Regions from separate parts of the Homo sapiens genome. Here all the other regions are linked to region 1. Evidence: promoter capture Hi-C in 16 types of primary human blood cells and fetal thymus (Javierre and others, 2016). All regions are on one chromosome and are shown on one strand. The core of a region is centred on a gene start or on the middle of the fragment in contact, and the rest is flanking DNA. Distances in the headings are between cores, read along the strand shown.

Region 1 (4,183 bases), core at 1,143-3,642:
GAAGAGGACTCTCCTGCTCCAGGGAACTCAGAGCCCCCAGACGGGAGGAGCCTGGACAAATCCAGCCCATTTTCCTGGTGATAAGCATGCCCTCCCCCCATTTCTGGCCAGCCCCAGCATGTCCCTCAAAGCATTCACATCTTATCAACTGGAAGAGGCCCATTTCCACGTCATAACTCCTCTGAAGTTGGGATGGTCTCACCATCAAGGACATCTCAGAGCTGGTGGTGAGGCATCAGCCCTCCAGCCCCCGCCCATCAGGTGCCTTCCCCTGGGCCTGGGCCACCTGTCCCTGTGTGGTGCTCTTCCCCGGGTGCCCTCATTGTTGGGTTCCCATGGGCAGCATCTAGGGGCCCAGAAACATGTTTCCCCCAACTTAAAAAAATGTATGACTGGTCAAAGGAGGTGACACCAGCTCCGCAAGCTACTAAACAAAAGTGGCTCAATGCCACTGCAGCAGAAAGCACATGGGCCAAGGGTGGGAGACAGGCAGACAGATATCATCCTGATAAGAACTACAGTGTGATAAGAACTGGGGTAGGCCCGACCGTCCTGCTTGTGCTCAGATGCTCCAGCACCTATACAACCCCAGGGGCTTAGAGGATGCTGGGAAGAAAAGGAGGAAGAATGCCAGTTGCGGTGGCTCAGGCCAGTAATCCTAGCACTTTGGGAGGCCGAGGCGGGCAGATCGCTTGAGGCCAGGAGTTCGAGACCAGCCTGACCAACATGGCAAAACTCCATCTCTACTAAAAATAAAAAAATTGGCTGGGTGTGGTGGCTCACACCTGTAATCCCAGCATTTTGGGAGGCCAAGGTGGGCGGATCACCAGGTCAAATGATCGAGACCATTCTGGCCAACATGGCGAAACCCTGTCTCTACTAAAAATATACAAAAATTAGCTGGGCACGGTGGCACGCGCCTGTAGTCCCAGCTACTCGGGAGGCTGAGGCGGGAGAATCGCTTGAACCTGGGAGGCAGAGGTTACAGTGAGCCGAGATTGTGCCACTGCACTCTAACCTGGCGACAGAGCGAGACTCCGTCTCAAAAATAAAATAAAATAAAATAATTTTAAAAATTAGCTAGGCGTGGTGGTGGGCGCCTGTAATCCCAGCTACTTAGGAGGCTGAGGCAAGAGAATCGCTTGAACCCAGGAGGCGGAGGTTGCAGTGAGCTGAGATTGTGCCAATATCACTCCAGCCTGGGTGACAGAGTGAGACTCTTCTCAAAAAAAATAAAAATAAAAAAAAAGAAGAGATGCTGGAAGCAACTCCATGGACTCCCAGGACAACAGGGCTGAGAGGCGGCAGAGCAGGGGCCGCCTGGTGCCCGTGGAGTCTGCCTGGGCAGTCAGTGAGCATGTCAGGAAGGATTAACGGTGGGCATGCCTACAGCGCCAAGGACATGCCAGCTACCGCACGGGAGCTGCCTGTCAGCCTCCCCTGGGCTCCACTTCACCACTGCCCTACAGTCCCTCTACCCCATGGGGTTGTTGTGAGGAAACTGAGGCTCAGAGAAGCTAAGCAGGTTACAAAAGGGCACGGGGCTCAGAGGAGAGCAGAGACGCGGGCCCAGCAGCTGAGGCTACAGCTGGCGTGCTCCCACCCTCCAAGGCAGAGCCCATGGCATGTGCTTTCCAGCGGCAAGAGCTGGAAGGGAGACAATGTTTCCCAGGAGCGACATGTGCCAACTCTCCGTGAGTCCTTCCTGTGCACAGGCCGGGGCTGAGTGCTTGAGGTCTATTAACTCTCTGTCACAGTGACCCTGTGTGGTGGGCACTGTCACTCACCTGTGATGTAGTGAGGGACACAGGCACAGCAGGGTTAGGGGACTTACCCAAGGGCACACAGCTATAAGAGGCAAAGCCATAATTTGAACCTCGGCAGTCTGGCTTCCAAGCTCTCAGGCCCTCAGCGGAATTGTGTGGCCAAGTGCTGTCTTAGGATCTTGTGTGCACCCAGGTCGCCTCACTCAGTCCTTGTGACACCTCTCCCCGGTGGATGCCATTCCTCCGGCTTTACAGATAACATCACTGAGGCCTTCATTCCCAATGGCTGGGGCGGAAGAACTCTGCCCTGGACCCCAGGCCCCGCTGGGACACCCCTCGGAGGCCGGGTTAGGCGCACAGCCTGGGCCGCTCCGGCACGGACCTGTACACCCGGGCGCGCGAGCGGAACCGGGCGAGGCGGAGGCGCGGGGCACTCACCTCGGGGAAGGCCCCATCGGCGAAGACCATCAGCAGCGACGTCTTCCCGCAGCCGCCGTCGCCCACCAGGACCACCTTGACGGACCGCACGCCTGGTGGCGCCTCCTCACCCGCGGCCTGGGCCGCCGTCATCCCGGGGCCGGGCGCTGAGCGGGCGGGCGGGCGGCTGCGGCGCAGAGACCCAGACTGCGCGGGGCAGGCCCGGCGGGGCAGGAATGTGGAAGGGGCGGGGCGGCGGGAGGAAGTGCGAGCCGGGCGCCCCGAGAGCCAGGTGAGAGGCCCGGGCGGCTGGGCTGGGGCCCTTCCTCTCCAGGCCGTCTAGGTCCCTGAAGAAACGCTGCCCGAGCACCTACTGTGAGCTGGCCGCGCTGGGGCCACGGGAGGTCGGAAGGGAGAAGACAAACAGCGGGACCATGACAGTGGGGGCGGGGGTGTGCTCAGGGGCTGGGTCCCAGATCCCAGGCAGGAGCCAGTGACCTTTAGTGAATGAATGAATGAATGAATGAATGGTGCATTTCCCCAGGGGTCTCAGGACGCAGCACAACACAGGCGTTTCATGCCAGGTGGGAAGGGGATGACCCCCTTCACTGGCCCCACCAGGCCTGGCCTGCCCCCTCCCGCAGCACCAGGAAGCTCTGCTGCAGGTGGGCAGCCACCTGACACCGTGGCTGGCCACGATCTAGGGAAAGCGATAGAACCTTCCCTCTGTAAAGTGTGAGTGTTTCTTATTATTGCACCATGAGATGTCCCCCTGGTGCCCAAGGGCCCGGGGACCCTGAACTGTTTAAGACAAAATCCAGGCCCTGCCTTGAGAAGCCCACGGCTTAGAATGGTAGACACGCAGGACATCAGTGTGATCAGAACTACAACGGGAGTAGGGACAGGCAGCGGGACGGGAGTAGGGGAAAAGAGCTCCTCGCCCACGTTGAGGGAGTCAGGAAACCTTTCAGAGTCTTGAGGAAAAAGTGAAACACAGTCAGATGGGGGAGGGAAAAGGTGTTCCACCGGAGACAGCGGCACGTGCGAAGCTGCGGAGGCCGGAGCGGAATGCTGCCCCCCCACCCCGCCCCCGCAGAGGGTGAGGCTCGCTTGCACAGTGGTGCAGCATGAGGAGCTGGTGCTTGCTCAGTGGAGCACGTTGGATGCCAGCAGTAAATCCAGCATTGAACTGGGAACTCATTGTCACCTGATCTCTCCACTTCTCCTAATGGCCAGAGTTGAAATCTTTTAAAAATGGGCACAAGGGTCTTCCCAGATCTTGGACTGAGTGTTTCTATTGAAGCTTAAAAGAACAAGGGGCAGACGTCATTAGGTTCCCCCTAATTTATGCTGGTCATGACATCCCCCCTCATGGAGTTCCAAGTCAGGCAGGTGAAAAAGCACCTTCAACCTCCTTTAAACTCACTGTGGTCTAAAGAGGCAGCCAGGGCAGGAGTCACTAGGTGGAGAGGCAGAGCCCAGCTCCTTGACTCCTCTGCCCGGCTCCCGCTCCGGGCTGTGGTCTGCAGGCTGGATGGAGCCCCACTTGGAGGGAAGGATCCTCCCCAGCACAGCTCTGCCTTTCCAGGTGCCCCTTCCTCCCCGAAACTGCCACAGGGCTCGGCAGTGACTTGACACTGGGCTGGGCAGGTAGCTCCAGAGCAGGGCTCCCCGCCCCAAGGAGTGGTGAGAGGGGCCCCACCCCCTCGGATCAGCTGTCAGCATCTTCCTCCCAACTGCTGCTGTCGTCAGGCCTTGGGTGGCAAGGCTGGAAGGCAGGTGGGGCCAGACTGGGGGTGGAGGGAGCTGAGAGTCAGGCAGAGGCGTTTGGCCTTGGTTGCTATAGGGATAATCTCTGTAATGACACACTTGATGTTTGTCATGCTATACAGTTTCACTGAACATTTCCTAATAATAACAACACCCATTAGTGGATTGCAAGCCACGTGTAGGCACTGTTCCCTAGGAGGTAGGGACTCTTAGCTCCATTTCACAGATGA
Region 2 (4,183 bases), core at 1,193-3,692, 230 kb before region 1:
TGGCCCTTGAAGATGAAGCTCCTCCGGCCCCGCTGCCAGGTCATGTGCTCGAAGCCCAGGAGACTGGTGTCTACTCGCAGGCTCTCACCCCGCTTCCACACGCGGTACACATCGCTTGGGCACATCTTAGACACAAGGGGCACTGCAGGGTGCACAGGGGTCACTGGGGGTCTTTCCAAAGGCCCCACCCCAAATCCCTGGGAGCCCAGAGGTCCCCACTCACCCCAGCTGGTGAACTCCCACTTCATCTCAACGTAGAAATCGGGGGCCTAAGAGAAACCAGAGCTGCTTGTCAGCGCCCTGCCTGCTGCTGGCTCCAGCAGGCCTGGGAGCCCCTTGTCCACAGCCAGCCCAGCCCTTCATCAGGTCTTTTTTTTTTTTTTTTTTTTTTTTGAGACTTGCTCTGTCACCCAGGCTGGAGTGTAGTGGTGCAATCTCGGCTCACTGCAACCTCTGCCTCCCTGGGCTCAGGTGATTCTTCCACCTCAGCCTCCCGAGTAGCTGGGACCACAGGTGTGTGCCACCACTCCCAGCTAATTTTTGTACTTTTTGTAGAGACGGCTTTCACCATGTTGCCCAGGCTGGTCTCCACCTCCTGGGCTCAAGTGATCCGCCCACTTTGGCCTCAGAAAGCGCTGGGATTACAGGAGTAAGCCACAACGCCTGGCCCTTCATCAAGTCTTGACGCACTGCTATGGCTCAGCTACGCCCAACCACTCTGCCCTGGAGAGGGTGGGCCAAGTGGGGCACTACAGTGGTCTTCAGACAATGAGGCTGTAAGCACCTGGAGGTGGAGGGCCAGCCTCAACCTGGCCATGAGCCTGTGCAGAGCCCTGGGGGAGCCTTTGTTTCCACTGGGTCTCAGAGTCCTACTCTGTAAAGGGGGCACAGTGGCTCCCTCCGAGCCTGCTCCTGGGGTAGGGGGTATGAGATAGTATGCTCTGCCAGCCAGGCCCCTCCGTGTGCTTCCAGAAGGGTGCGTAGTAGCAAGTATTCCAGGGTTTCAGGCCATAATCCACCGAGTCAACCTGAAGTCCCTGCTCCAGGTAATCTGCATTCTTCAGGAGGCCCAAAGCTGGCAAGGCTTCTCTTCCAAAGGGTCCAGTCTCTCCCACGTGAGCCTGGCCGTCTCTCTTTCCTACGTGACCCTGGGCTGGGGTCAAGATAGACAGACCTCCTTGCTGGTGGCAGGAGGCACACTGCACAAACTGGGTGCCTTTCCAAGGCCAGGCCTGGCACAGTAACCAGGGTGGTGCCCTGCCATGGTACCCCACCTCCATAACTGTGCCCTGCTGTACCTGGCGAAGTTTGTTGAGCAGTTCCGGAATGCCCGCCAGCCTCTGCGTGGCCCTCTGGTAGTCCCGATACTGGAGCACCAGCTGCACCATCTCGGGGTCTCCAGTGCTGACTGCCTCCTGCAGGACTGCGGGCACCAGGCTGCTGAGGGGAGCCCTCCAGATGACCCCAGGCCTGGCTGCTCACTGCCCCCCGCCTGCCAGCCTCAGGGGGAGCCCCTTGTCCTCTGCAGTACCTGCCCAGCCCTGGCGGTTCTCTTTGCCCACGTTGGCATTGTGTCGAAGGAGCACTCTCACAGACTCCAGGTTTCCCAGAGACACGGCCAGCTCCAGTGGGGTCCGCCCGCGGGGGTCCTCCTGTTCAATGTCGTGCTGGGGGAGACGGGACACTCACAAAGGGCAGGAGAGAAGAGGGCAAGGCAGGGAGGCTGCCAGGGCGAGCAGGGTTGGGAATCGCTGTGGGAAATAAGGACGGCGGACTGACCAGGGAGATGGCAGAGGGTGGCCTGCGTGTCCTGGCAGGGGAGAGGAGGGGGCAGGAGGGAAGGCAGGGGCAGAGCCGGGGTCTGGCGGCGGGGCCTGGTCAGGCAGAGCTGCAGGTTGTCAGGAGTTTGGCGGAACCTGGGGACCAGGACCAGAGTTCTTGTTCTCAGCTTGGGTCAGCAAGGATGCGGAAGCGAGTTCGGGCGAGCAGGGCAAGGCCCAGCGCAGGGGAGAGGAGGCCAGAGGCTCAGGCGCGAGGGGCCGGTGACCTGGGCTTGGGATCGTGCAGGGGAGGAAGGCCCAGGATGTGGCTGCGGAGCTGAGCGGGCGGGGGGGGGGGGGGGGCTCCAGGACGGAGGCCACAGCCTTGGGTGGGGGACCCGGGGGAAGGGCCGGGTGCCCCAGCGGGGCCTCACCTGGTGGCTGTGCAGTGCGGCCTCCAGTTCGCGATGCCGGTTCGCCCAGACGAGCCGGTGCAGCGGGAAGGTGGGGCCCGGGCCGGCCATGCTGGGCCTCAGCGCCGCATCCCGGCCCCGCCTCGGCTTCGGGCCTGGCACGGCCCCCTAGCCTCCCCTCCGAGCCGCGCCCCAGCTGCGCCCCCCGCGGCCCCCGCAGCAGTAGCGGCGGCGGCGGCGGCGGCGGCAGCGCGGGCGGCAGGGAGGGCGGGGCGGGCGGCGGAGCGGGCGGGGCTGCGCCGGGCCGGGGCGGGGCTTCGCGCGCGCCCCCGTCCCCCCGCAACCATGGCAACCGCGGCCAGGCCAGCGCGCGGCAGAGCAACCGCGAGCGCCCGAGGAGATGCCCGGCCTTGGGTCTGCGCCCCGACCTCGGTCGGGCCCGGGTCCGCTGGGGCGGCCTGGAGGGCGGTGCCCGGTTACAGCTCCGCCCGCGGCCCGCAGGAGGCGCCCCGAGCCCTGCGCAGACCCCCGGAGCCGGGTCCGGAAGAGGAAGGCGGGGCCGGAGGGGGCGGGCACTGGGCCCCTCGGTAGTGCACGCGCGTGCGCGGCGGGCCGCGGTCCTGCTGCAGCCGTGATGCCTGCGTTTCCCCCGCGGATCCCCTTGCTCGCCCCGGTCTTCCTACCCCAGGTCCCGCGGTCACCGACTCTGCTGGGGTGTGCGGGTGAAGTGGGGCGCCCCGGCTCCCCTCACCCGGCCTGGAGACGAGCAACGAGCAGACGCCACTAAGTGCTTGCCGGCTGAGCGGGAAGCACCTTCCCCTGGGACCTGGCCGGTGTCTGCAGGCCCAGCGATGCGGGGAGGCGGCCCCCGGGGCCCTGAAGTCAGGGATAGGAGTTCGGGGAGAGAGGGGCGCAGGCCCAGGCAGCGGCAGAGCCGTCCCGGCGGAGGACCGCCCGCGGCGAACGGCTGCCTTCGCCCGCCGCACGAGTCCCTTTTGCAGAGGCTGCGGTTGGCTGCCAGCGTCAGGAGAGGAAGGCGAGTTTCGAAATCAGGGCCGGCCCCTCCACCCACACCGGAACTAGGGTGCAGGCCTCCGTCAGCTCAGTTCCGGCCCTTGATTACTGGAGGCCCAGCCTGGGGTCTGGGGCCCTGGTTTTGCTAGGTGGCCAAGGCTGACCCTCTATTCTCCCTTTCCCTACGTGGAACATGATTGAGGAGGGCCAGCTAGCTTGAGCATCACTTCCTGCTGTAGGGCGTCCTCAGTTCTGAGACTCTGGGCTGGAAGGCCTGATTGCCATTTTTACCCTGCCTTCTCCCTGTAGTCACATGGCGCCTGTGCCATCTGGGGTCACTTTGCCACCCCACGCTATGGTGTCAATCTGTGAGGTCCTGGGGTTGGTAGCAGCCCGAAGGCTTCTGAATGCCCAGAGCTCACCTGCTCACCACTACTGCAGCCCTCCCTGGCCACCCCTTTTCTCAGAGGCGGTCCCTTCCCTGAGCCCTCTCCAAACTCAACCCCGACAGGACTTTCTTGGTTCCAGCCTCTCCTGATTTCTGCCATCTTGAACACAGCTCCCCACTGGCACTTAATTCCATGACAGTGCCTTCTCAACCCTCTTCCACGGCCTCCTCTCTCTCCCTGACCCCCACATCCCTGGGAGAGAGACTGTCCGTTCCCATTGTCACCCTGATGCCACCCCCAGGTCCACATTTCAGCTTACTCCAGGACATCTCTGTGCCCAGGGATCCCATGCTATCCCATCAGTATGTCCGAAGCCAACCCAACCACACCTACCCTCTTCCCCAGACTCCCGCCTCACTCAGCCCCAAGTCCAGCCTGTTTCTGCTGGACCACGTTCTTCCCGTCTGGCCTCTTTTCATCTCTTCCTCTCCCACTGCGGAGGTTTGTCTCCCTGCCTCCTGTCCTTCACCTCCCTCCCCACATCCTGTACTCAGTAACCAGGCAATCACTTTAGAGCCAGCTCTCACCACTCTCAGCCCTGTTCCGC
Region 3 (4,183 bases), core at 563-3,062, 210 kb before region 1:
CAGTGAGCAGGGCATGGCACAGGGGGGCGGTGAGGGCCATGGGCATGGGGCACCCCTGCAGCGTCAGCCAGAGCTTAGACGGCTGCTTCAAAGGCTGAGGGACACCGCAGAGTCACAGCTCTTATTTCACGCCATCCACATTTCACAGATGAGAAGACCGAGGCCCAGTGAGGGAAGAGACTTACCCAGAGTCACAAGATAAGACCACGGCAGTGTGGACAGGCCCCATCCCCAGCCCGCTGGGGCACCAGGAGGAGGCCAACTCTCAGGCATGCACAAGGAGTTGCCACACGACACAAAGAATCGTGGCGGGCACGTCTGCTCCCTGGCACAGGCCAGGGTAGCTGATGAAATGTAGAACCAGAAGTCTGAAGCCCTGATCTGTTGGCCAGGTGCCACCTGGGACTACCTGTGTGACTCGGGGCAGGCCACTCACCTCTGGAGCTTCAGTTTCCCCATCTGTTCCACAGGGACAAAACCACACCTGTCCTCGCCACCCCATGCGCTGCTGAGAGGCTCACACAGTGGAGAGATACTCTATCAGCCATAAAATGCTGGACAAACCGCAGCAATCGTCCACATCCTGTGTACTTTTGCACCTACATCCTGAACAGTCTAAACTTTGATACCAGGTGTGATGTCAGTTGTCTTACAGAGGCGGCAGCTAAGGTCCAGCCATTGCAGGTGTGCTGGGAGGGCCCCTGGTCAACAGCACCCACGGGGCACCATATGCAGGGCCTGCCAGAGGAGAAATGTAGGGGAGAGGGCACAGGGGATGTTTCCCCGACCTGAGCGCGGTCCGAGGGGGAGGGTGCCCGCAGCACCCTAGGTCCTGCTCACCACGCCGCCCTGAAAGCACTCTCGAGCCCAACTCCAGGACAGCGACCCCACCAGAGGGTGGGAGAAGAGTCCGGAAGACTGGCTGTCCCCCAACACCTCACACAAGTGTAGACTGGAGGAGAGACGGGTGGGGGTAGTGGAAACCCTAAAGCGAGTGCCGTGAGCAGGGACAGCAAAAGGGTGGGTGACATCGTCAGGCGAGGTAAATGGTGGCCAGCGGAGGGGAGGGGACCCCACAGGGACCAAGGGCTGCTCCGAGAAGGATGAAGGGGCGCGCCGGGCCCCCGTGGGAGAAGGCGGGAGCCAGGGGCTGACAGCGACTTCGGGGGGCCGGTGGAGCACGATAAGGAAGCAGCAGGGCGGCCAGGGGGACCCGACTGGGTCCGGGGACCGATGGGGCAGAGGAGCTCCGGAGTTGGGGCGCTCCGGGCTCAGGCGCCCAGGGTCTGGGGCTTAGGGTCTGGACCCGCAGGCGCCAAGGCCGGGCTGCTCCGGGCTGGGGGGCCGACAGGGGGTTGCGAGAGCCGGCCCCGGGGGTCCAGGTCGCGGGGTCGAGCATGGGGCCAGGGTCTCGGGGCCGCGGCCGGGGCGCCCGCGGGGTCGGGCCGGGGCCGCGGGCAGCTTCTCCTCACCTGGGCTCGGGCAGCAGGATCTTCTTGCTGGCGCGCGCGGCCGGCGTGGCCTTGCTCTTCTCCATGGCCATCAGGTAGCTCACGTCGGCCAGCACCGCCTCCAGGTCCGCCATCTTGGCGGCGGCGCTGCCTCCTCCCGCCGCCGCCGCCGCCGCCGCCGCTCCTGCTCGCTCGGCGCTCGGCCCGGCCCGGCCGCGGCTCGCTCGGCCTCGGGCGCCGACGCCTCCCGCCTGGCCCTGCTCGGCGCCCGCGGCTCCGCTCGCCGCCGCTCACAGGCGGCGCCGCCCCATGGCGCCGGCTCGGGCCCGGCCCCGGCTCGCGCTCCGCTCCCGCCGGGACTGCAGTCGGGGCGCCGCCGCCGCCGCCGCCCGCGCGCCCGCGCCCCGGAGCCGCCGCCGCCTCCGGCCCCGCCTGCCGCGCACAACGCCAGCGAGCCCGCGAGGGGCCGAGCCGGGCGGGCGACGGCGCCCCCTGGAGGCCGCGCGGAATCTGACCCCGAACCAGACCTGCGACCGCGGGCTCAGACCCTGGCCGTGACCTCGGCCCTCGATGCTGGACGGAGACCCGGGCCTGGAACACGACAGGGACCCGGCACGGAAGACGACCCGAGACCCATTCTCTGACCACAACCTCGGGTCACATCTCTGGATCCCAGGCTCCCCAGTCGGGCCGCAGCCCTGACACCAAACGTGATCACAGGGAACCTGGACGCTCACCAAGACACAGATTCAGACCTCTGAACACCATCCTGGGACTTTCATCTCAGACCCTGGCTATAACCCCGGACTCCCTGACCTTGGACGCAGTCCACGACCTGACACCAGACTCCAAACAGGACCCCAGACTCAAACCTTGGCCCACCACCTCAGACTCTAACCATGACCTCAGATCACAGCCCTGGGTCTCCAACGCCATACCCAGACTGCGACACTCACCTCAGACCCCCAACAGGTCCCCAGATCCAGATTTTGGACCATGACCTCGATCCCATCCTGGTTACTGACCCCAACCTTGATTCTGACCCTAGGCTACTACCATGACCCTGAACTCTAGACTTGGGGTCAGGACTCAGACCTAGATTGGACTGTCAACTCCAGATCACTGTCCTAGACTCAACACCCAGAACTGTGGACACGGACTCAGGACTAGGACGTCTAACCTGGGACCCACACTGGACCCAGAATCCTTAGTAGGTCACCCAGAACCTGGGACCTGACAACTGCAGCGCAGTTACAGGCTTCCCCCATCCCTGATCCCACCCCTCCTACTCTAGAACCAATCCTGGCCGCAGAAGGCCCACTCAGGATCAAGTACCCTGCACCCAACCCCACCCCCCAACCAGCTCATAGACCCAGGTCCCTGGCCAGCACTCTTGGCAGCTCCCTTCCCTGTACCCCATCCCATCCAGATGTTCCTTCAGGATGGTTCCACATGTAGTTACGGTAAAAACTCTCCCAGCCCGGAAGCGCACAGAGGTTTCAGTGCTGCCTGGCAGGGGAAACCCACCCTGCTGAGAGCCCACCCAGAGTGGGGAAAGCCAGGTGTCTCAAGGCAGCATTCCTATCTCAACATGCCCCTCTCTAGAGCCTCTCTTTGCTTTCAAAGTGACAGGACCCTCCTCCCAGCCCTGGGCACATAAAGCTCAAATCTCATTACCATGCTGTGGGCCAGCAGCCAGCATCCTTTTGCAAAGCAAGGCCCCCATCTCTGTGCACCTCTAGGCTACCATCTTGGATCAGCCCCAACAGAACCTGGAACCAGAGCATGTCAGAGCTTGTGAGGTTCTCCTCTCAGTGGGTGGTGAGTCACTCGCCACCCATATACCCATGTCAGAGCCTCAGTTTTCTTTTCCCCAACTGCTCCTTCATTCTCTCCCCTTCTCTAATCTAATTTGTCACCATAGTCTCCTGTCTGGCCTCCTGAGAATCTCCGTGAATCTGTCTACTTCTCAGGGTCCTCATGGCCAGCCACTGCCCTGATGCAGGCCCTGACCAGGGATGCTTTTCCCAAATCTAGATCTGATGGAGTCACTGCCTGCTTGGCACCCAGAAGCAGCTCTCCAGGCCTTCTGGGGCTACTGAGAGTGAGAGACCTAGAGGGGTCTCTAGGACTCACCACACTCTGCCCAAAGCAGATTAGGTGAACAAACTCCTTAATCTGCAAGTCAAGATCTTGGAGGACTTGGACCTTGAATGCTCCAGTTTGTTTCGCTACCATCCTCTGCACCTGGAGTTTCCCCACCAACTCACCCACCCATTCTCACTTCTGTGCCTCTGCTGTTTCCTGGGCCTGGAAGCCCTTCTGTGTACCTTCCTCCGTGGACAACTCCTACTCATCCGCTAAGACTCACCTCCTCCAGGTAGTCTTCCCTGACTCCCTGACCCCAACTATGTACATCTCCAATTCTACACTTACCACCTTCTAGGCCCTGTTTTCCATTTTCAGTTGCAAGATGCATTGTTGCAAGTTTCGACAGTGGGGAGTGAAGCCTCGTTACATGTCAGCATCAATTGGAAAATGCATCCTGATGTTGGAAATGCTGATATATATATTTAAAGAGGACATACTGTCCCCCACTGTCACTGGTGCCCCTAGTTCATCCTTTGCTCCCAGTGCCCACCACAGGACCCGACTCAAAGGCATCAGTGTTTGATGAGTGAATGAATGAGTGAATGAGCTCTTGGAACACATGGGTTTTGGGGTGGAACAAG
Region 4 (4,183 bases), core at 1,108-3,607, 190 kb before region 1:
CTTACAGAGTCCTCTCTCACCCTCAAGTTCTGCCTCAGTGCTATCCTGACATTTTCTAGCCAGGCCAGACCAGAACTGAAAGGGATAGGCCTGGCTTTCCACTGCAGTCTACAAATCTACAGGCCACAAACCACAACATGCTGGCTTCAATTTAATATTTTATAGCCCCTGCCCCCCAGCCTGGTTGGCAGGGGAAGAGAGACAGCACATAACGGGAATCTGATGTGCCTTGCCCTGAAAACCAAGAGGTAGAGCCAAGCAGTCCTATTAGCCCTAGACAGAGAAATATTAAGGAGAATTTAGATACACTATACATTAATTCAGATTTGGGAAATAAACTCATGTTTGCAAAGAATAGGGTCTATTTAGAGACTGAAACAATTTTACCAGTGGCACATGAAGCTTCTATGGCAGAAGCAAGCTGCTGACAATACAGCAGATTTTGCTGCTCTAAACTCGAGCATGCATCAGAGTCCCCTGGAGGAGCGCTTGTTAAAGCAGACTGCTGGGCCCACCCAAGAGGTTCTGATTTAAGAGGCCTATGAGGGTCCTGACAGTTGACATTTCTAAAAAGTTCCTGAGTGAATGCCATTGGTCAGGACACCACACTACTGTAATAGGATGTGTGTGACCCAGATAAAAAGGATATATCCTAGAGTAAATATATACCAGAGTTTAAGGAAAAACCAACAATGCCCAATGGGAAGCTCCTTGTTCATCATCACTAGCAATTTTTTCCCCCAAGTGTCTGTCCAACTTAAGAAGAAATGGTAGCTCTCATTAAGGAAGCTTCAAAACTGGACTCTGCTTGCTGGAAGAGGGAATTCTGATCCAGGTTTGGGGGGATGAGCATTAAAACTGAAGAAAAATGTTAAGCACCTTCAAATTCATCTTGAAAAGCATGCCCACTTCTCTCACTGAATGGAGAGGTAATTGAGTCAGGGGCTTAAGTGAGGTTATCTGTGTTATCAGCACCAGAAGAGTGACTAGAACATCATAGGCTCTCAACCAACATGTGATGAGTTCAGCTGACTTGAGGAGGAAATTTTCAGCCCGCAAGACTCTCAAGTTTTATCACAGACTACAAATCTATCCCGCAAATCAGTCTCCCTCCCCATAACAATGAGACATGGGAAAGTATAGAGCAGGGCCAGGAGGCAAATGGCCAGTTCCCTAATGACATCTGCGGGTACAACAGGCTACATCTTTAAACAGGACCCAAAGTTTGGGAAAAAGGGTCAATTCACTCCTCATAAGACCCCACAGGCTTTCAGATGCCAAGGTGCATGCTGTTCTCATATGGAAAACCTGCCACCTACTCCCATACCCCTAATTCCTGACCCCCTGAATCCCTGCTCACCATTTATACCACGTCTTGCACACTCGCATACATTCACAAAGTTCTCTGCGGCTGAGGTAGCGGAAGACAGACATCCAGACCTCCCGCTGCATCCAGCTTTCGTCTCCATCCTGAGCCCAACTGCCCCGGCCATTCAGCCTGGCTGCACCCCCCTCCTCTGCACTGTCATCTTCCTCCTCCTCCTCCTCCTCTTCCTCCTCCTCTCCCCCCAGCCCCTCCTCATCCCCACGCTGGGGGGTTCGGGCTGGGCAGTGCTGCACTAGCACACGGGGGGAATGGCGAAGGTTGGCAGAGGAGGCCGTGATGGCCTGCAGCTTGGGCACAATGGATGTCCCGTGGAGCTCTTTGGTGGGCCTCTGTAGCGTGACAGTGAGGTACGATCCCCGGATCTTGGCTTTCTCAACTTCAGACAGCTCCTTTTTGCCGCTGGGATTGTTCTCCTTTTCCCGTACCATGGTGCGCTCTGTGGCCTGCAGCCGCAGCAACTGCCGCCGTTTGAAGCGCTCATCGCGGCTGGCACTGTGGTGGTCGCTGGGGCCAGCCCCAGGGGATGACCGAGTCACCATACCCCGGGGGGAAACCGGGTCATGGATGAGCTGCAGCATGGAAGTGGGTGAATGAGGCGGGGGCGTGAGAGGCTCATCGCAGCTCCGCAGGGGCCGCAGGACTTTGGCTTGCACAGCTTCTTCGTCACTCTCTTCCATTTTCCGCTTCTGCAAAACAGGCCCAGAAAAGCAACATCAGTGCTTCCTTTCTTCCAAACCCTCTGAACCGACAGGGTGGACCTCCCTTGCTCTCAGGGGACCAGAGAGAAGAAAGGTCACGTTGGAGAGGGGGTCATTCCCTCAGAGTCGGCCCAGGCTGGTCTCCAACTCCTGGGCTCAAGTGATCCACCTGCCTTGGCCTCCCAAAGTGCTGGAATTATAGGTGTGAGCCACTGCACCTGGCCTGACCATTTTTAATTGCGTCTCTGACTTACCTCTTTCACCCAAGAGACGTATTTCTGTTTCATGGTGGAAAAAGCCCACATATACCATTTGAACTAAGATCCTGAGTCTGACAATGGTAAACACCATTGGCTTCTAGCTCTACCACAGTCTAAGTTTGACTCCACCAGGCTGCGTCTTCCACTCCAACCCCCACGTGAATAATAAAGCAGATAACAAGAACCTCTCTGAGAAACTGGGTTGCTACAGAGAGATTCACTCAGGATTATGGTGAGGAATCCCACAAGAGCCCCCAACTTTATCTGTGGCATTTGTGCTCTCTAGATACTTGTCTTTTCCTGGAGCCCACTATGACTATGCTATGACAAAGCCCAGTAAACATGTTCCACTAGGAACCGTATCAGTAGTTCAGGTTTTTTGCAAGGAGACATTTTATGTCTCTAAGCAACAACCCTGTTCTCTGCTCCTTTTCCTCCTTACATTTTTTTATCATTATGGTTGGAAGAAAATGACCACCTTTTGGGTGCTACCTTTTCCAATGTATTAGAAGGTAATACTAAAACACAGCCATCTGCCAACAACACATCTGCTACAGCAGAGATGCAAACACTCAACATCACTAATGAAGACACATGTAAAGGTCACTAGTGCAAGAACTAAGGAGAACTTTGGCCCTAGTCAACTTCAAAAATCCTTGCCCTCAAAGACAAATAGATTGAAAAATTCAACTATCTTAGTATCCAAGTGGGAAGAAATAAAAAGTAAGAAAATTCCTTTCTGCCCCCTTCCCTGCTCCCGTGCAAGGGTCCTTGAAAGACTGGCACTTGGAAAGCCATCTCCTCCTGTAGGTGTCCACAGCTGGTCTTGCCTTGTCAGCCTGAGTAAGTACAGTCCTTTTGGCCCTTTGACATTATTGGCAACCACTGGTCAGCAACCTCAGCTCCTCTGGGCCAAGGTCATAGCACTGGTCCTCTCTGGGGGAGGGGCTGCCTCCACATGACACATTTGGGCATGTGGGATGGGCAGGGCAGGGCTTTCTGCCAGGCCACAAAAGTGAAGATGACAAAAATGTGAACCTGCTTAACTGGAAGCTCAAGTACACTGCTGCACTCACTGGCTGCCTCAGGCCACTGCCTCTCCTCTAGTTAACATTCCTCAGGAGGGATCATACTCACCTAATTTCTCTCCTCAAATAGCCCAGCCGTGGTTCCTCTCTTTGTAGGGCCCCAGAGTATAAAAGGACCTTAGGAATTTGCAGATCCCAAGTGGAACAACATTTAGTAATACAAAACACAATGCTACAAACTCTAACAAAGAAAATACTAAAAATTAACCAAAGGAAAAACATACCAAACCAAACAAAAATAATCTCCTAGGTCAGAGAAACTGTGTGAACACTAATGCAAAGGCAAACGTGTAGCAATCCCCCACATTTGATGCCTCCTTTCTGTCACAGTGCAAATCTGATAAGGTTCCTTTACCTGGGCTTTCTCCGAGCTGTCCTCCTGGTAGCACTTTGGACATTCCCAGCAATTTGGCAATTCTTCGTTAAGCAACCCCTCTCCGTCCATCTATAGGAAGACAGAGATGTTTTTAAAAGCCTGTCTCTCAAGCTTCCTTTATCCAACAATAACACAGTTGGGAAGAGTTACTCATTTCTCAACAACATTGGTCCATAAAGGGAGAAAAACTGTGAGCAATCCAGCCCCAAATAGCCAATGGTGCTGAACCTGATCTTGACAGTGCGGCACAGGTTCTGATAGCTTGGGTTTAGGGACTAATGCTCTAGTCTCTGTGACTCAGTGTTCTCCACTGTAAAATGTTGGCTGATATTATTACCTTCACTTTCCCTCAGGAACTAATACACAGAGATACA
Region 5 (4,183 bases), core at 773-3,272, 180 kb before region 1:
AACACACACCACCACACCTGGATAATTTTGTATTTTTGTGGAGGTGAGGTTTCGCCACGTTGCCCAGGCTGGTCTCAAGAGATCTGCCTGCGTCTGCCGCCTAAAGCACTAGGACAAGAGGTGTGAGCCACTGGGCTCAGCCCAAGTCAGTACTTTTTAATGTCCTATTTTTTCACTTAATCCTCTTCCAACTCTATATTCTATGACTTGTTCTTCAACGCCTTAGAACCTAAAAAAAGCCCTTTTATCACAGCACTGAAATGCACTATTTTTCCTTGGAATATTATGAATATCTCATCTACCACTTTTCCCCTCATCTCTTCTACTAATTATTCCTGAAAGCCAGATAGGTTACAACAGCAAACAATTCCTTTCTCTGCAGGAAGGGTAAACTGTACTAGCTTTGTCCCCCACTGAAGTATAGCCATCAGTGCTATAAGCACCAAGTTTTCTAGCACTTGAAAGTCCCCAGCTGTGCAGTGATTCAGCAGCTACCCAATCTAATGCTTTTTTCTTTTGAGTGATGCTTAGATTCTCAAGGTATTCAAGCTCTAAGCTTGCTATATCTTTTCTGAGATTTAGCATAACTGATCAAATATAGGAATAATTAATCTATTTGATCTTAAGTGAAACTACACCTGCAGAGCTGGAATCTAAATCTGTTGTCTTCTGACGTCAGCTACATTTTGACTGTGGTTTTGGGTAAACGAGAAGCTGTGGACAAGTCTCTGGAGGGAGAATTCAAACACTGTCGGCCTGTGTAGTCATCTCACTGGCTACTTGTTCCTCATGCTCTGGCCTCTGCCACTATATCTTAGCCAGTGATGGCAGTCACGTTTTTCAGTGGTCCCTGATAAACACAAGCAAGCTATCTCCGGACACTTTTCATAATGCTAAGCCTCCTCTTTAGATGTCTCTTCTTAACTCCCCTCTCTTCTTGCTGACTCTGCTTAATATTTAACCCAAATCTTTCTACTTTTTCCTTTGGTATACCATTGTACCACCCTTTCACCTCAAATCTCCTTATTTAGCTACTTTAGTTAAACTACTCCAATGGATTTGTTGTTGTTGTTGTTGAGACAGGGTTTCACTTCCATCACCCAGGCTGGAGTGCAATGGCGCAATCTCGGCTCACTGCAACCTTTGCCTCCCAGGTTCAAGGGATTCTCCTGCCTCAGCCTCCTGAGTAGCTGGGATTACAGGTGTCTGCCACCACACCCAGCTAATTTTTGTATTTTTAGTAGAGACGGGGTTTTACCATCTTGGCCAGGCTGATCTTGAACTCCTGACCTCGTGATCTACCTGCCTCGGCCTCCCAAAGTGCTGGGATTACAGGCATGAGACATCGCACTGAGCCTTTTTTTGTATTTTTAGTAGAGATGGGGTTTCACCATGTTGGCCAGGCTGGTCTCGAACTCCTGACCTCAGGTGATCCTCCCACCTTGGCCTCTCAAAGTGCTAGGATTACAGGTGTGAGCCACTGTGCCTGGCCCCCCTAAATTTATAAAATGGCTTAAAAGTAGCTTAAAATAATCTATGTGAGGTTTTCAAAATAACATTACAACTTGTAGATTAGCTTTCTAATATACATACCCATTGTTCCAAACACTGATTTAAAAATAAAATTGCTATTTCCAGCTTTACAATTCTTGGTCTTCACATTAATTGTTACTTAGGAGGAAAGACTTAAAATAATTTCCTCCAGTTTAGATAGCTCAAGGTTGGGTGTGGAGGCTCATGCCCGTAATCCCAGCACTTTGGGAGGCTGAGGCAGGCAGATCACCTGAGGTCAAGAGTTCGAGACCAGCCTGGCCAACATGGTGAAACCCCATCTCTATCAAAAATATAAAAAAATTAGCCAGGCATGGTGGCACGTGTCTGTAATCTCAGCTACTCAGGAGGCTGAGGCACGAGAACTGCTTGAACCCGGGAGGTGGAGGTTGCAGTGAGCCGAGATCTTGCCATTGCACTCCAACCTGAGCGACAGAGTGAGACTCCGTCTCAAATAAATTAATTAATTAATTAAAATTAAAAAAAAAAAAAAAAGCTCAAGTCTGGATTCCTTAAGAAAAATATACAATATGAAGGGGAGCTGGAGGAGGGATAGCATTAGGAGAAATACCTAACATAAATGACGAGTCAATGGGTGCAGCAAACTGACATGGCACATGTATGTCTATGTAATAAACCTGCACGTTGTGCACATGTACCCTAGAACTTAAAGTATAATTAAAAAATAAATAAACATAAAACTTGATAAAGCAATGGGATGAATTATTTTAAAATGATGCTTTTCCCAATGTATTTAAGTCTTGATGCTAGATAAATTTGAATCTAAAGAGGCTAAAGCTACTCAACGTTAACCCAGCATAGAACAATTTCATTTCTCTCAATCTGCTTAGGATGAGACTCCTATCAGTCACTTTTGTCCTGAGTTTTATCTCAAGGTAACTTAAGTTTAATGTAACATTTCTTATATAAATATTTTCTTTGGGTCACTTTATTTTTGGGGTCAGCCTGAAACCTATGTTTAAGACTAAATTTATAAGTCTTCAATGAACACATAAATGTTAGTATTTTCAAAACAGGGACATAACCTCATTCTAGTAATGAAAACACTGAGCAGCAATAACAAACACACATGCATATTAACTTCTCTCTGACTGAACCAGAGATCACCCAAAATTCCTATATTTTCTCCCTCTGAATCTGGAAGCTGACTGCCATAGCTGGATCAGTAGCTGTCATGTAACACATCAAACCCTTACCTTTACATCAGCAATGAGAGCATCTTCATCTTCTATCCCTGTGGGGACACATTTCTTGTGCAGTGGCAGAGACTCCAACTTATCTACAAGGCAGCGAAGGCCTTCAAGCTCAAAATGGGTCAGATGCACTTGCCTGTCCTTTCGGGGAGCACACTGGGGATCCCACACTTGTCCATTGTGGGAGCCCCGGCTACAGTCAGAAGATGAGTCCCCAGCCAAAGTTTTCTTCAGACTTGGAAGACTTCGGCAGGTTTTGCCCAGTCCATCATAATCCAGGTTGACTCCATTCGCTACAGGGCTAGTGAGGACAGAACGCCTGCTGCTCAAGCGTCGGGGTTCTCGATCCACTGCTTCCTCATCCCCATTCCCAGACTCCAACCCATTTAACTCCAAATCTACCAATATGAAGAAAAAATGCAGTAAGAACATTTCACTCTGCCATGTGATCAGCAAGAGAAATAGGTGGCATGATAGGGGCCTTGAGGCTATAAATGACAAAATTACCACATTTAAAAAAATGGTCTATCTTTATTCCAACCCATTTGTCCACTGTTCAAAATCACAGTTAACAGGTAGAAACAGGATCCTGACCTAGGAGGACACCTAGGTAATAGTCAATTGGATTTTTTAAAGTTTGGGTAGGACCTAGTCTTTGAACTGTGTACTAGAAATCAGTTACTTATCAAAGTGGTTGTAAAGTCAGTTTCAAGTTAAAGCTTGAATCTGGGATTATTATTTCATTACCTTTTAAAAGAGAAGACACTAAGAAGCATGTATGTTTAAAAAATAGTTTTAGCCTGGGCAACATAGTGAGACCCCATCTCTACATTAAAAAAATTAGCTGGGTATAGTGATGCATGACTGTGGTCCCAGATACTAGGGAGGGTGAGGTGGGAAGACTGCTTGAGCCTGGGAGGTTGAGGCTGCAGTGAGCTGCGATCATATTACTGCACTCCAGCCTGGGCAAGAGAGTGAGACCCTGTCTCAAAAAAAAACAAACAAAAAAAAACCAAAAAACTTTTTTTTTTTGTCTGAAGTTTTGGTCTTAAAATCAAGCTTTGGAGTTGAAATTCTAACAACATAAGTAACAAAACAAAGTGACTATTTTTGAAAAGGAAGATTTTGATAGTCAAAACACAGTGATAAATGTTCACCAGTCTTTTCTTTTATAATTTAGAAAATGCAAGAAGGCGCAAAGCGGTAAATAAGTCATCCCTTATCCCTCCATCCTACGATAACAACTGAACAGTACAATATACTTTCTTTCCATGCTTTAACAGATGTGTATGATTATTATGTGGGTTTTTTTTTTTTATGTTGTGGTTTGTTTGTTTTGAGACAGGTTCTCACTCTTTTGCCCAGGCTGGAGTGCAGTGATGCAATCATGGCTCACTGCAGCCTCAACCTCCTGGGCT
Region 6 (4,183 bases), core at 1,035-3,534, 160 kb before region 1:
GAGCCCAAACGTGTATACCTGAAAAGCCTCTGCTGGCAATTCTCATATACTTTATTGGAAAACCACTGCCTTTTCAAACTGAAAACAAAACAAACAAAACCTCAGCATCTATTCCATAATGACAGGAAGAAACACTGTTGTTTTCTGCAGACGCCCAGCATCATAACTATTCTTGGTGGTAATCCATCAATTTCTTTTTCATTAAGGAAAAAAATGGCTAAATAACCCACTCTTCCCATTTTGCTTACCTGAGGGAATGACGAAGGTATAGCCCTGCTTGAGCTCAATGCGCTGACAATCTGATACCCGGTCACCCAGAAAGATGTCTCCCTGTTTCCCTGACAGCAGCCAATTCTCGTACAGCTCCAGGTTGTGGGCTGTAGGGGGGATGAGCCAGAAGACCTGTGAGTTAAAAAACTTTAGTCTGTTAACAGCCATTGACATGACCCAGTCGTCTCCCTCAACTGATAAACAGGTACAAAATTAAGACCACCAGGTAGAAGAAAGGCAAGCAATTTTCCCAGCCTATAGAACTTGACTATGTGGTAAACCCTAGAAGGTCCAAGGCAGTAGATCTTTCTTATCCTTCACTTGATCCAACAGCATTAAGGCTTCCCTTGGGTTTGACTATACACCATCCAGGACTCGGAGAGAAGAGGGACCATTCAGCTCATTACCTAGGCAGTCCCTTAAACACTCTGTCTGGCTTCCAGAGTCCTAAGTAGTACAGTTAATTAGGCACAGTATCTTCAAGAGACTGGCTCAGGTTGTTTTGTCCAAGGTAGTAACTAAGATCAACAGGGCTTAAAGGGATCTGAAGCAAACAAAATGACTTTTGGATTTGGAGACATAGTTGTTCTGATTAAGACTTTTTTTTTTTTTTTTTTTTTTTGACAGAGTTTCACTCTTGTAGTCCAGGCTGGAGTGCAGTGGCACAATCTTGGCTCACCGTAACCTCCACCTCCTGGGTTCAAGCGATTCTCCTGCCTCAGCCTCCAGAGTTGCTGGGACTACAGGCGTGCGCCACCACACCCAGCTAATTTTTGTATTTTTAGTAGAGACGGGGTTTCACCATGTTGGCCAAGATGTTCTCGATCTCCTGACCTTATGATCCACCCACCTTGGCCTCCCAAAGTGTTGGATTACAGGCGTGAGCCACTGTGCCCGGACAAGACCTCATGTTTTTTTGTTGTTGTTGTTTGTTTCTTTTTTGAGACAGAGTTTTGCTCTTGTTGCCCAGGCTAGAGTGCAATGGCGCGATCTCAGCTCACCGCAACCTCCACCTTGTGGGTTCAAGCGATTCTCCTGCCTCAGCCTCCCGAGTAGCTGGGATTATAGGCATGTACCACCACACCCAGCTAATTTTGTATTTTTAGTAGAGATGCACTTTCTCCATGTTGGTCAGGCTGGTCTTGAACTCCTGACCTCAGCTGATCCGCCCGCCTTGGCCTCCCAAAGTGCTGGGATTACAGGCGTGAGCCACCATGCCTGGCCAAGACCTCATGTTTTAAACAAGGCATTATCTATTCTCATTCTAGTTCCTACTTTTCTCTTACAAATGCATTCACTGCAAGTTAGAGAAAAAAGAGTAACAAGAGTATAATACTATAAACCTCGGGTATTAATTCTAGATTTCCATTCTCATATAGCATTCAGAAGCATTTTCACAAGCTGGAATATAACTGAATGAATAAAGATAATCCTTCAAAACCTGTTTACATCCTCAAAAAGGACTTAAAGGCTTCCTTTGGCCATATTTCAGACCAATGGCTACATAGAGGGAAAGTTGGTTTAGATCTTAATTTGCTGATTTCACAGTGAATCTATCCAAAATTCGTGTTCCCTTCCACTATTTATTATACTTCCAAGTACAGAAATTATCTTGTCCTTCTAAAATCACTTCTTTGGCTTCATTTGGAGAACTCTGATTCAGGAATCTAGAAACAGGACTATTGAGATTTACTAAGTGCTGTGCCAATGGTGTAATGACAGTGAACTAGATGAATACTAATTTCTACTGAACACTAGCCAAGAAGGTGAACTTAATCTATAATTCTTTCCAGATACGAATGGGGACAATTCCCTAACAGATTCATTTCCAGGGTATATTAAGTATACATGAACTGAAGCAAAGTCATACAACCAACTTCAGATTCCAACCCCTATCACAACTATGACCATACCTTTCCCCCTTGATGGATGTGATACCAAACAGAGGTACCACCAAAGTCCACATGGAAGTCAGTATAGCAGCCTCGAACACTCATTAGACAGTACCTGACCCAAAAAAAGCAGCAGCATTAGTGTACTGATGGAAAAAAGTACATCTGCCCCACCAAAATGCCATACTCTCCTCTTATATACTCCCTTTATCTTCCACTTAATCTTAAGTTCCAGAAGGAGAAAAAGCAATGCATTTTCAAGTCATCACATTATCAGAAAAAGGTTTTTTTTTTTTCTACCGTATTGACTAAAATGTAAGTTTTTTTTCCTTTAACTGTGTGGTTGTGTGCTATGGTATGCTCACATACACTCTTCCTTGTGGAACTGTAAAGTCTCATCTTTAAATAATTCATCTTTTTAATCATTCAAGACACAGAGCAAAGCTCGTAAGGGAGAAGCCAATCCTTGCTATTGCTTTGGTCTCCCACAGCACACGGAGGAAGATGCAGGGCGCATCACTTACTTCTGCACTTTAGGGTACTGCATCTCCAAGATGGCATTTGTTGATTCAGTCTGGCTTTCCTTCAAGTGCCTTGGCCACATGTTGTCTACCCAGTCAATGAAATCCACCTTTAAATAGAAGGAGGAAACACTTGGGCTCCAAGGGAAAGGTTGGGGTCAAAGATAATTTTAAAGTCAAGAAAAGCAGAATTTCTTAAAATACATAACAAAAAACTATAATTTAATTATAAGCAAATTAAAAAAATCTGTTGGCGAATCTTAGGATTACTAGGCAACCATCCTAGAAATAATTGTTATATGAGAATAAAGATTAATCATTCCATCAAATGATAATAGTAAAGACAGCACTAGTCAAAATGGAATCATTAATTATGCAATAGTGTATAACTATGAACTCTCTTCTATGTCAATACTTATATAATTTGTTTTATTTTTTAATCCAATAAAAGGTGTTGTCTGGAAGGTATCTATAAACTCAGCAAAATATATACCATTGTTAGAACAGTTAAGATGCCAAAAGTTAGGCCAAAAAAAAGAAAAAAATCCAGTATAGATTTATAGCCTTGCATTGACAATGTGCTATAGAAACTACCAGCTTAGGAATAAGAAGCTCCAGGTCTATCATGTCTTTTCAAGACTATATAAGGCCCTCAAACTCATCTATAAAACTAAGATAGACCAGGCACAGTGGCTCACACCTGCAATCCCAGAGCTTTGGAAGGCCAAGGTGGGAAGATCACTTGAACCCAGGAGTTTAAGACCAGCCTGGGCAACACAGTGAGAACCCATCTCTTCAAAATAAAAAAATAGTTGGGATCAGTGGCTCACACCTGTAATCCCCAACACTTTGGGAGGCCAAGGCAGGCGGATCACCTGAGGTCGGAAGTTCAAGACCAGCCTGACCAACATGGAGAAATCCCGTCTCTACTAAAAATACAAAATTAGGCCCAGTGCAGTGGCTCACGCCTGTAATCCCAGCACTTTGGGAGGCCGAGGCAGGTGGATCACGAGGTCAGGAGATCGAGACCATCTTGGCTAACATGGTGAAACCCCATCTCTACTAAAAATACAAAAAATTAGCCAGGCGTGGTGGCGGGCGCCCGTAGTCCCAGCTACTCGGGAGGCTGAGGCAGGAGAATGGCATGAACCCGGGAGGCGGAGCTTGCAGTGAGCCGAGATTGCGCCACTGCACTCCAGCCTGGGTAACAGAGCAAGACTCCGTCTCAAAAAAAAAAAAAAATTAGCTGCGCATGGTGGCGCATGCCTGTAATCCCAGCTACTTGGGAGGCTGAGGCAGGAGAATCGCTTGAACCCAGGAGGTGGAGGTTCTGGTGAGCCGAGATGGTGCCACTGCACTCCAGCCTGGGAAACAAGAGCGAAACGCCGTCTCAAAAAATAAATAAAATAAAATAAAAAAAACAGCCAGGCGTTGTGGCATGTGCCTATAGTCCTAGCTACTTGTGAGGCTAAGATGGGAGGTTTGCTTAAACCCAGGAGG

What was found. Contacts are between HindIII fragments. The CHiCAGO score rates a contact against its expected background, and 5 or more counts as called.
Region 2: a contact is called between the fragment with the promoter of ANKRD13D here and the fragment with the promoter of RHOD in region 1, in 11 of 17 cell types (M0 macrophages, endothelial precursors, fetal thymus and 8 more). The highest score is 13.8, in M0 macrophages.
Region 3: the fragment with the promoter of GRK2 here is called in contact with the fragment with the promoter of RHOD in region 1 in 2 of 17 cell types (M2 macrophages and endothelial precursors); the score reaches 6.9 in M2 macrophages.
Region 4: a fragment that was not itself captured here is called in contact with the fragment with the promoter of RHOD in region 1 in 1 of 17 cell types (endothelial precursors); the score reaches 6.0 in endothelial precursors.
Region 5: a fragment that was not itself captured here is called in contact with the fragment with the promoter of RHOD in region 1 in 1 of 17 cell types (M2 macrophages); the score reaches 5.4 in M2 macrophages.
Region 6: a contact is called between a fragment that was not itself captured here and the fragment with the promoter of RHOD in region 1, in 1 of 17 cell types (M2 macrophages). The highest score is 8.2, in M2 macrophages.

What each region holds. Positions count from the first base shown.
Region 1 is chr11:67,055,056-67,059,238 of GRCh38, reverse strand. It overlaps RHOD (ras homolog family member D), which reads right to left and starts at 2,392. Exons shown (of 5, transcript NM_014578.4): 1 at 2,205-2,392. The coding sequence starts at 2,336. RefSeq lists silencers at 2,254-2,323, 2,334-2,493. The HindIII fragment of the contact is 21,888 bases long and covers 1-3,488 here.
Region 2 is chr11:67,287,562-67,291,744 of GRCh38, reverse strand. ANKRD13D (ankyrin repeat domain 13D) reads right to left here and starts at 2,442. Exons shown (of 15, transcript NM_207354.3): 1 at 2,195-2,442; 2 at 1,532-1,667; 3 at 1,299-1,423; 4 at 224-269; 5 at 1-142. The coding sequence starts at 2,284. RefSeq lists enhancers at 245-1,167, 1,168-2,092, 3,327-3,536 and silencers at 2,087-2,856, 3,037-3,106. The HindIII fragment of the contact is 22,420 bases long and covers 1-4,183 here.
Region 3 is chr11:67,264,102-67,268,284 of GRCh38, reverse strand. GRK2 (G protein-coupled receptor kinase 2) reads right to left here and starts at 1,812. Exons shown (of 21, transcript NM_001619.5): 1 at 1,473-1,812. The coding sequence starts at 1,585. RefSeq lists an enhancer at 244-293 and a silencer at 1,824-2,023. The HindIII fragment of the contact is 15,021 bases long and covers 1-4,183 here.
Region 4 is chr11:67,247,976-67,252,158 of GRCh38, reverse strand. It overlaps KDM2A (lysine demethylase 2A), which reads right to left. Exons shown (of 21, transcript NM_012308.3): 16 at 3,789-3,878; 17 at 1,361-2,073. Among named protein-coding and RNA genes, the nearest start is that of GRK2, 16 kb to the left of the region's middle. The HindIII fragment of the contact is 3,131 bases long and covers 792-3,922 here.
Region 5 is chr11:67,230,546-67,234,728 of GRCh38, reverse strand. KDM2A (lysine demethylase 2A) reads right to left here. Exons shown (of 21, transcript NM_012308.3): 12 at 2,769-3,163. Among named protein-coding and RNA genes, the nearest start is that of GRK2, 34 kb to the left of the region's middle. The HindIII fragment of the contact is 2,928 bases long and covers 559-3,486 here.
Region 6 is chr11:67,213,950-67,218,132 of GRCh38, reverse strand. It overlaps KDM2A (lysine demethylase 2A), which reads right to left. Exons shown (of 21, transcript NM_012308.3): 7 at 2,687-2,793; 8 at 2,184-2,277; 9 at 249-402. Among named protein-coding and RNA genes, the nearest start is that of GRK2, 50 kb to the left of the region's middle. The HindIII fragment of the contact is 5,186 bases long and covers 1-4,183 here.